Regions from separate parts of the Homo sapiens genome. Here region 1 is linked to region 2. Evidence: promoter capture Hi-C in human tissues and cell types (Jung and others, 2019). All regions are on one chromosome and are shown on one strand. Each heading gives the region's core, a stretch centred on a gene start or on the middle of the fragment in contact. The rest is flanking DNA. Distances are from core to core; before and after follow the strand shown. Region 1 overlaps PREP (prolyl endopeptidase). Region 2 holds the start of LIN28B (lin-28 RNA binding posttranscriptional regulator B).

Region 1 (5,302 bases), core at 1,574-4,073, 430 kb after region 2:
GCTGGGACAGTGGTTCGGGTGAGAGACAAGGCCAAGAGGAATGGCTGGTCTCTAAAAGGGGCAGGAACAACCATTATAATGGGAGTGGAAACAGAGAAAATGGGCACAGCACATGTTAGTTTGCAGTTTTGGCTATTTCCCAGAGGGCCTCACCAGAACATTCTAGTCAGAGCCCTAAGAAGGATTCCACACAAGACCCCAGCATGCTGAGGGTCTTGGCTGGCTCCTGCACTTCCACGGAGGGATTCTCTAAGGAGGGTACCCTGAAGATGTCATTTCCCTGATCCTTCTGATTTGCATGAGGCTGCACTTAGGCCCACGGTGGGTCCAAGGGTCAGAGGCTGCTCAACAGATTGCTCAGTTCATTTTCCTTGGAAAAGCAGAATTGTGTTCTCCAGCTGTTTCTCTATTTTGCTTTGCTTCTTTCACATGTCTCATGGTATAATTACAACTACTGCAACATAATTCATCTCACCCTGAAGCAGACACACTGGCTTTTCACATATAAAGTTTTCATAAAACTGTTATGCCAGGCATAAAAATGCTACCAAATAATTCTAGGATTAGTACATCCAATTTTGTCACCTCCTACCCACAAATGTTAGCTAATTACTTTAAATAGACCATTAAAGACTGCACTCTTCCAAGTCAAATATCTAGATGTAAAACCAGAGTGTCCAAATTCCTAAAAGTCTCAAGTTTTTTCATAACACACATCTTTATAACTCGGGCAAATCCTTTTCACGAAGGTGGTAGAAAATTTCTGTAAAGAAGCTTTGTTAAATTTAGGGTTACATAAATGCCAATAATATTTCTGATATTTTAACCAGGGAAATGCCTTCTTGGTCATTTATGTATTTAACAGGTATATCATCTTGGTTGATCTAAATATTAGAAAAAAAAATTGGGGAAAAGGGAGAAAAAGAATAAAAATAAAGAAAAAGAAAATGGAAGTGTTACATGGTGATAAGGAAGCAGGGTGAGGAAAACACAAATTCCTTGTTGTTCAAGGAGTTTCAGTACCCGCAGTCTCATTCTAGGATGTATTAAAATAACTGAAATATGAAAGCCCTGATGCACGCAGCTGAGCTTCTAAAGAGAGTCAACAGTTTAGATTTTATATCCATAGATGAATCTGAACACATTTTCCTAGCAAAGAGTAGCTGCTCAAAACTAAGAAATCTTACTTATATCTCATGTGCCTTGACTATTAGAAAGCTTAAAAGCAAAGCAAAGCTTCAGTTATGCAAGATCATTAAGTTCTAGAGATCTGCTGTACAACACTGTACCTATAGTTAGCAATACTATATTGTGCACAGAAAAATCTGTTACAAGGGTAGCTGTCATGTGAAGTGTTCGTACTGCAATTTAAAAAAGAAAAAGAAAAGCTATTTGGAAAGGGGTGGCTTAATTTGGGAGCTGAGATTCCTTTACTCCTAATGTCTTCAGAAAATTTTTTTCAAAGTGCCCTCATGTACTCTATTTTAATACACAAAATACTGCAGTCCTACGAAATAAGCCAGGCACGGAAAGATGAATACCTCATGCTCTCACTTATATGTTTTATTTAAAGGAGTCAAACTCACAGAAGCAGTAAAATGGTGTTTACCAGAGGCGGGGGTTGGGGGAGATGTTGGTAAAAGGACACAGAGTTTCAGTTAGACAGGAGAAATAAGTTCAAGAGATCTATTGTACAACATGGTAACTGCCTGAAAATTGCTAAGAGGGATTTTAAGCGTTCTCAACACACACACACACACACACACACACACACACACACACACACAAAGTATGTGAGGTAATTACACATATGTTAAATAGCTTGATTTAGCCATTTCACAATTTCTACATATATCAAAATGACGTGCTACACACCTAAATATATACAATTTTCACCTGTCAATTTGAAAAATTGACTTACGAAATACAGATACAGGCTCACTTACTGATTGCCTTAACTTTTCCCTTTCTAAATGGAAGTGTAAATTAAAAATACTGTTCACTTAAAAAAAACTCATCTTTTTACAATTCTTACATAAATGAATAAAAATTATGCCTAGAATTACTCATTAAATAAATATTTATACAAAACACTACAATGTGCACCATGGTGATTAACAAGATGAATGAAAGATAAAGATATGTGCTAGAGGAGAACAAATAAAGGGGAAGCTACTTCCAGGGCAGGGCAGGGTGGGCTGGGGCAAGTGCCATTGGCAGGCAGGCAAGACGACCAGGAGGGACTTCCAGGTAGAGACTGGCTCAGGCCCGGGTATCAACCTCCCCTCTTCTGAAATACCAATGAAAACTAAGAGTGGTGCTATCTACATCCCACAGGCTTTGAGGAGCATCTGTTACAAATAACAGATATAGGACTTGGTTAAGCAACTATCAGGGGCTTCTGGAGAAAGTGGCAAAAACCATAATCCCAGCCTAAGTGAAAGGCATGGGCGGCACACTTGGATCCCCTCTCACTTTAGCAGAATTTGGAATTTGGAAATGACTCTCCAAGTACAGGGACAGCCCCATCAAAAAGCAGCCAAGAGGCGCTCACCCTGAGGCTGTAGGACTTAGGGCCAGGAGGGCAGGACAGTCAAGGTAGGTCATGCACAAAAGAGAATTAGATGCAGCTGCTTTTCAGGAAACACGTCCAGAAATGGAAACAATAAAAGATTGGAATAATGTACTTTCCAAGGCTAATATCTATGCCAAGGAATCTCTACCATTAAAAAAAAAAAAAAAAGAGTGCTCGTAATTTTCCAGGACTTACTCAATATTTACAAAAATCAGCAGCCCATCAGACAACAAAGGGGGAATCTTAAGCCCCAGAAAGAAAAGCTTGTTCAGGTCACAGTTTTGACCACAATGCCATTAACCTCACCACATGAAGTGCTTTCTTTTCCTGGCCCACAAGCAACCCCCTACTCATTCTCAAGGTGGAGAAATATTCTAGTTCAATCAGTGAGAGCCCAAAATCTTTTGGGCTCAACTTTAACATAAAAAACCCAGAGTGGGCCCATCTCTTCTCTCTGGGACCATCTGCTCTTGGGTGAAAAGGGCTCATAGTAAGCTTCCTGCTGCACATGATCAGCAGACTAGGCGGAGCCTTCTAGAAGCCTGTCAGGCCTCTTTCCACCTCTCTGCTTGTCCCCGTGTGGGTAAATCAACTCGTTCCCTCACTGGGACTAGTTACTATCAATTAGGGAGGAAGCAGAAACCGTCACTCCGACCTGATATTCAAGCCTTGTTCTCAATACTCGTCATGACCAGGGAAAACTGAAATTTTAACCCCATTAGGCTCCATTCTTTGGTGTATACTTTCCTGACCAAAAACCTGGTGAAGAGGTGATTTGCACCTCAAATCCAAACCTAACTAAATATCTGATCGTGAGGACATTAAACACACTCATATCCTCCCTCTCCTGAATAATTCTGTATCAATGAGGAAATCCAAACTGTAACAAGATTACTTAGAAAATACGAAGAAATAAGAAAAACAAGACTATCACACATTAAGTTTCATGGGATGTGGCAAACACTGTTGGAGTTGACATCTATTTCTTTCTGGTGCCATATGAAGTCCCACTGATAGTTGGGGAAAGGGTGTGACCGCTGCTGGCCAATCAGAATGTCCCTCCCCCAGACCACGGCTGGGCAGGACCTCAAGCAGGTGAGGCTGCGGCTCATCTCAGGGCTTGCTGGCATGACTCACCCATCAGGGAGCCAGCCTCTTCCAGTCCTGCACTACTGAATTCAGGAGTGTACAGGAAGCAGGCTTGGGAGACTGAGTGCTCATGCTTGGTTATGCCAGGTACCGAAGGGCAGTGATCACACTGTGACTGATGAGGAACATCTGGCTGGAACGGTGACAGTTATACCTTCAGAAAGTTTGAGGTTTACCCTCTTTCTCCATCAGATCGTATCATCTGCAATTGAGCATTCTCAGTGAGGATTCTTGGTACCGCTCGCTTGTACCTCCATCTGTCATAGATAATGTGACAGACACCTCTGTCTGTATTCTAACTATGCTAACTCCCTTCCACGTTGTTTATATAAGTAAACCCTGTTCATTTTCATAAGCAAAGTCTTTCCATCAATTCTAACCCACAGGCAATAGTCAACAAAATAGTAATAGTAGTAAACCCAGGCAAAACAATCAGAATCCTTTTTTAGGGACAGAGATGAGTATTTGAAGGGAGAAGTTATCTCAACTTAAGACACTTGGGGCTACAAGGACTGTGAGAAACCCAAAGAGACAAGACCCATCTTTCTCTGCCACACAGGAGTGGCTGCTGGAAAAATAAAATTATCAGAGAAAAGCAGATGACCTAAGAGAAAAAGACAGGTTCCCAAAAATACCACATGCACTCCTGGATCAGACTGTGCCTAAAGGCACTTATACCCTGAACCCCAATAACGTGAGCCACTCAGCTCCTCTTTTTATGTGAGCTGGTCTGAGTTGGGATTCAGGTACCAGTAATAAAGTGTCCTAACACAGCTTTCCTTGGAAGCCTCTGGTTTTCTGAACGAGATGAGACTGGATGACCATGAGCAGGCTGGAAAGAGGAGAGCTGACCAGAAGCTTGCTCCAGGGCTGGCTGGGGATGACTGAGCAAGTTCTCTACAATAAAGGTGTTTTATGAGAAAGAATAAACTTTAAGCATTAAAATAAAAAATTTTAAAATAACAAGAGAAAATAAGAAATCAATGAACTAGAAGCTTTTAAGCATGAAACTTAGACTTCCTAGATCTGCTTTAAAAAAAAAAAAAAAAAAAGAAAAAAAGCACATTTAGCCAAAGCTCTGGCTAAACTAATCAAGCAAAGATGATGCTACAGATACTCAAATTTAGAAATTATAAACAAATATAACCACGGATTGGGAGAATAAAGTCATTTAAAAAGCATATTACACATAACTTCATGCTAGTAATTTTTAAATCTCAATGAAATGAATAATTTACTAAGAAATACAAAGGACTAAAATTGATCCAAAAAGAAAGCAGAACTGAACAGAGCAATGACTGTGAAACAAAATGGGGGGAAAAAACCCAAGAATTAATTGCAATAAAAGAACTTGTCCCAGATAACTCTAAGGATGAAGTTTTTCAAATTATCAAAAACCATAATTTCCATATTATTTAAATGGCTCAATAATGAGTGCAATGGTGAGCATTTATTAAGCACTTACTATGTGCCTGCTACTTTGCTAAATGGCTCAAAAACACTATCATTTAATGTTAACAATTATATGAGGTGGTTTTCTCCAAATTACAAGTCAGAAAAATGAGGCTAAAAAACACG
Region 2 (5,389 bases), core at 499-2,998:
ATAAATAAAATGAGAAAGTAGCCCTTTTTCCTGAGAAATAACAAAAGGAATAACAGACAAAAAAAAAAATCTTTCCAAATTGATTAGTTTTCATTAAACCTTTTATCAAAAACAGCTGAAAATAACTTCTATTTTTTATACATCCATTTTCCAATCTGAGCCAATTAAATTTATATTTAGTTGTTTAATATGGGGAGGGAGTATAAATAGGTGTATACAGCTTTTTCCATAGCTCTTCGATTCATAATCCCTACATTTTAGCTTGTGTGAAACAGTGCTGGAGTGTGGATGTGTTTGAAGAGACTGGGAGGGGGATTGCTGGCATGGTGGGGGAGGGTCAACTCGGTAGCTTTGTCGAAGGAAGTGGTATCTGAACAGTTAGTTTCTTGGTAAACTGCTTGTTTAAGAAAATGGGGGGTGGGGTAGGCAAGTCTGGTGGTGCATTTTAAGGTTTTAAAATAGCGATATTTTATATTTTAAAGGAAATAAAGTCTTTTTAGTTAATCTATAATATTTATTATAGTATTCGATAAGGGCAGAAATACTGTTGCCAGCATCTTGTAATCAATCGTTTGAACCAGTTTGAAAGGTAAAGGGGGTAGGCATTTTGAAACTGGGGGTCAGTTGAGGAAGGACAGTAGGAGCTTCATCCGTTGTTACATTTTCGTTTATTCAACTCTTCTAGCCATTGGTAGTGGACTTTTAAAATGTCAGGGTACAAGTCAATATGATATGAATTTACCTTTTTTCTCCCACTTGTCCTTCTTTCTCCACCCCACCCCCTGCCCGCGCCGGCTTTTTTTCTCTCCCACCTCTTTCTTTGACTCTGCTGCCGCCTATCCTGGCGGCTCCTCTTCACCTCCCCTGCCTGGCGATCCCCTCCCCCTCCTGCCCTATGTCCTCCAGCTCTTGGGGAACAATCGCCACTGATTGAGGTTCACTCTATGTTAGGCTGGAAAACTGGGCTGTTATTTAGGAAGTCATTAATCACATCTCCTCCCCCGGAAAGAGATGGCAGAGAAACCTGTGAAGTACAATTCCTTACCAACCCCCTCTAAAATTTTCCAAAATGGTTTACCTAAACACAATTTGACTATATGAAGGTGAAAACGATTTTTCTAGTAGGATTTTATTTTAAATTTGAAAAAATTTCGGGCATAATCAGGTAATTTATGTGCCTCTGCCTTTTCCTAGGTGTATGTTTTCATTATCTAAAGTTTCATGGGGATGTAATTAGGTTTAATTAGATCTTTTATAAATTATATATTTTCCTCTAAGAATTGAATTAAATATGAAATTAGCGTTCCAAGCAGGTTTACTGCCATGGAATAGCTGAATTCTTAAGGGGAAAAAAAGCGTTAACATCGGTTGTTTTATTTAAACGACCCCCTCCCATGATTTTAGTCAGGCTTGTGTGTAAGGCACGCGTGTGCACATATATGACTGCCTTTTTTTCTAAATCTATGATTCACAAGGTCCCTCCATTGTGTTTAAGTAGAAGCACGAAATCAGCATTCTGATTTATCCTAAAGAAGCGTTCCAAATTGTCTTTAAGATAACATGTTTGAGTTTTTCGTGTTCATTCATAAATTATTTTGATGTCAGCATAGATGAAATGGCGATTGGTTATCTCTTCCTCTTGCCAGCCCCTTAAGGATACGAGGTGAAATTAGTAGCAAGAAAGCATGTAATTGACAAAGTCACGTGTGCTCAGGGGGCCAGAAACTGGAGAGAGGAGAGAAAAAAATCAAAAGAAGGAAAGCACATTAGACCATGCGAGCTAAATTTGTGATCGCACAAAATCAAGATGTTAGATTGATGCAGAAGATCACTCCGTTCCAAAGGGAAAGTTTTCATCTCACGAGTTTGGAGCTGAGGGCCCGTGGGGCAACATGGCCGAAGGTTAATTTTCTTTTCTATTGTTTTACTGTGAATTTCTTTCTTCTTTTCTCCTCCCCCTCCCCCTCTCCCACCCTTCTTAGACCGTCCCCCCCTTCCCCTTTTACCCCAATACTGGGCATTACCTCCCAACCCCCCATCACGCAGTGGGGCTTTCTGCAAACCTATTGTTATAGATCTCCAAAAATGTTTTGTACCGCCCACACTGATTCACAACTTGAAAAGCTTTCAGGGGGCTATTGTTTGAATTGTGTGAGTGTGATTAAGCGCAGTTTCAGTTAGTGATTCCAAGAAAACTTTTATACACCTGCCCCCTCCCCCATTCCACCCCAACTTTAATTGAAAGTTATGGGGGGGAGGGGAATGCACATTGCAAATAACGCTGGATTCAGTGCTGCCCCATGTGCCTTAACTAGTAGCTCTAAACCATCTTCACGATTTCTCTTTCCTCCTCGTGCCCGCCGGAGAGAATAGTTTCGCTGAAAATTTCTCTTTGTCAATGGGATCAGTATTAAATCAGCAATATACAAGTAAAGTATCGCATGCTGTAATGTAAAATGTGGCTGAAAAATGGAGTTAAATGAATAAGTACACGTATGTATAGAAACGTGGAAGTTGGTGTGATCGATAGAACAGTGTGGCTTCCCCCTCCCCCGCTTTCCTTTTAACCCTTTTCATTTTAAGTATTTTCTGTGGAGAAAAGAAATCAAACCATTAAAAAAAATTTTTTTTTTCTGTTACCCTTCCCCCCCAACCCCAGGCAGGCAATTTTTTTTTTTTAATCTTTGAATGCACATTGAATGGGAATACAGACTGACTTTTTTGTCCTGTTCCTTCTCAGGCGGGGCTAGCAAAGGTGGTGGAGAAGAGCCCGGGAAGCTGCCGGAGCCGGCAGAGGAGGAATCCCAGGTTTTGCGCGGAACTGGCCACTGTAAGTGGTTCAATGTGCGCATGGGATTTGGATTCATCTCCATGATAAACCGAGAGGGAAGCCCCTTGGATATTCCAGTCGATGTATTTGTACACCAAGTAAGCCAAACTTTTTTGTCCCCCTCTTCATCTTTTTCCATGTGGAGGAGCTGATCGGTAGTTATGCCAATAGACGTACGATAAGATGTCCTTCGGTATATTGAAAGACAAAATCTTCCCTGAAATCACTAGGTAGTCCAACGTTTAGGGTACGTGTATGGGCCTTTTCCTGGGTTTTCTGTCTAAAGAGAAAAGAAAATATTTGAAATTTCACTATATATATTAAGGTTGACGTTATTAGCATTTCCCCCTGCTTCATTCTACAGCGAAATAGTGTTCTTGTTGTTTCCGGTATTACCTATACAATATACTTTGTCGCCTGTATCTGGTGAATGGGTAGAAAAATGAAGAAACATGATCATTTTAAGGTTGAAAAAACAAAGCGAAACAGTTTGCTGTGGAAAGAAATGTATAGATTGCCTTATTTTAGACACCTCTAGTCACAGTAGCTCCCTTTATTATTTCATCGCTGCCTGTCCTGTAATCATTTTGTAGATTCAGATCAAAATAATTTGACTTCATAGTAAAATAAAATAGAACACTGTTGGCCTAATGTGGTTGTAAAGAAATGCGTGCAATAGAGGGATGCTTGATAAACATTTTAGAAATGTGCTCCGTGTAGTCATTGGTCTACGTATACTGTCTCTTTAAGAGACTGAACTCAAAAAAACATGTGGCCAGAGGCGGCTCTTGCTTGTGTGTTTAAAATGTGCTGGTCTGCTACTTGGGGTAAATTTCCACCTTTGCTCGTATTGTGTTGTAATTTTTAAAGATGTTTTAATACCAAACAGAATTTCATTGCTTCCCATTTTCAAAATTTTACCCAGGAAATAATGAATTAATACTTCTGCCTTTACTCCTCTCTACTGCTTAATCCCTTTATAGTAAAAAAGATACTTTTATGGAAGCCGGTTGTTTCCTCAAAAAAAGGTAAATATAAATTTTCTGTAGTTAGAAATAAAGAGGTTTACGACTAAAGAGGTTTATTTTGGCATGATAATCTAAGTTAAAAAGAATTGAATGAAAGGCTGTTAATACTACAGATTGACTGACAGATACATGGGTGAAATATTTGGTATATTTGCTTGAAAAGTATATATTTGATACTGTGTTGCATGTTCCTAGTAATATTTATACCCCCTTCCCTAAGGAATATCATCTTCAAATTAAATATATAAACAATAGAAACATATGAAACCATTCTGTTTTGATCTGTTGTCCTGTGGTGCTTGGTAGCTTCCTGACCTTGCTGTGTGGTGTGTGTTTTCCTTTCCTGAAGGCCTGGCCATCATTATTGGCTGTTTATATGTGGAAGGATCAGCATAATCTGTGAATTGAAACAGGGTTTAAGTACACAAATACAAGTCCACATACAGACTACTGGATTTTATGCTTCCTATTTTATAGTGCAAAATGAAGCTACATTTTCTGTTTTTTCCCCTCTAAGACTGGATGACAAAAATCATAGACAAATCCATTTTCTCTCAGGCTCTTTCTTCCACCTTTGAACCTTCTTTAGGTTGTTAAATTGTTTTTTATGATCTCATAAATTTGTTTTATAGATGAATGAAAAAAATAACCCTTCTTTGTCTGGTCACGCCTTTTTATAATTTGATTTTCTATGTTTACCTTCTAAAATATTCATCAAATGTTAAGATATTTTATTAACCAATGTTAATGTTTAGAACAACAAGACATTTGTGTTTATACTATTTAATGATTATATATTGATAAACATTCCTCTATTCACTGAATTAAAACATGTAGCTGCTGAAGTTTTTTAAATATATAGCTGTTTCTATACTATAAACATTGATTTTTAAATAGTTGACTTAATATTCAGTTACATACAGTAGTATATACATACAGTTCATGTATATATTAAAAGGACAGTATTAAATGATGCCTAGTTAAAGAGGTTTCTTATATTGTAATATACATAAATTGTATATAAATTGTATGAATAATTGTTTTGAAGAAGGCAGGAATCCTACTGATGTTAGCTAAGCAACTACAAGTAACAGATGGTTGTAAATGATACAGGTATTATGTGTGCATCACTTATGGAATAAGGTTGCAATTCAAGACGATTTCATAGAATTTTAAAAAACATTTTTATTATTATTTTAGAGGCCTTTTTAGTTTTATAAGCATTTTTGAAAACATACCAGGTTTTATGTCTATGTACTATTTTGTTGTGAAAGGATATGTATCATAGGTGATTAGGAATTTTAAATGTTCAACTGGACCTATGTCTACTCAAAATTTTTAAAATATATGACATAGTTTTTTTTGAAGTGTTTGGAAGTACATGTGTCACTGGATTTTTTTTTTGAAGTATTCTGAAACATTTTTAATAATGTATATTTGGAGAAATAAAAAACAAATTATTTGTGTCCTTAATAAATACATAAAAATTTATGCTGAGGAACCTAGGATACTTTTTCTCTTAAAAATATTG

What was found. Contacts are between HindIII fragments. The study calls those that stand out against the background at their distance.
Region 1: a fragment that was not itself captured here is called in contact with the fragment with the promoter of LIN28B in region 2 in 1 of the 25 tissues and cell types used here (spleen).

Annotation. Positions count from the first base shown.
Region 1 is chr6:105,380,527-105,385,828 of GRCh38, forward strand. The region is part of intron 2 of PREP (prolyl endopeptidase); the gene reads right to left. Among named protein-coding and RNA genes, the nearest start is that of PREP, 20 kb to the right of the region's middle. The HindIII fragment of the contact is 3,654 bases long and covers 997-4,650 here.
Region 2 is chr6:104,955,359-104,960,747 of GRCh38, forward strand. It overlaps LIN28B (lin-28 RNA binding posttranscriptional regulator B), which reads left to right and starts at 1,749. Exons shown (of 4, transcript NM_001004317.4): 1 at 1,749-1,902; 2 at 2,741-2,928. The coding sequence starts at 1,893. RefSeq lists enhancers at 762-1,699, 1,700-2,637. The HindIII fragment of the contact is 4,416 bases long and covers 957-5,372 here.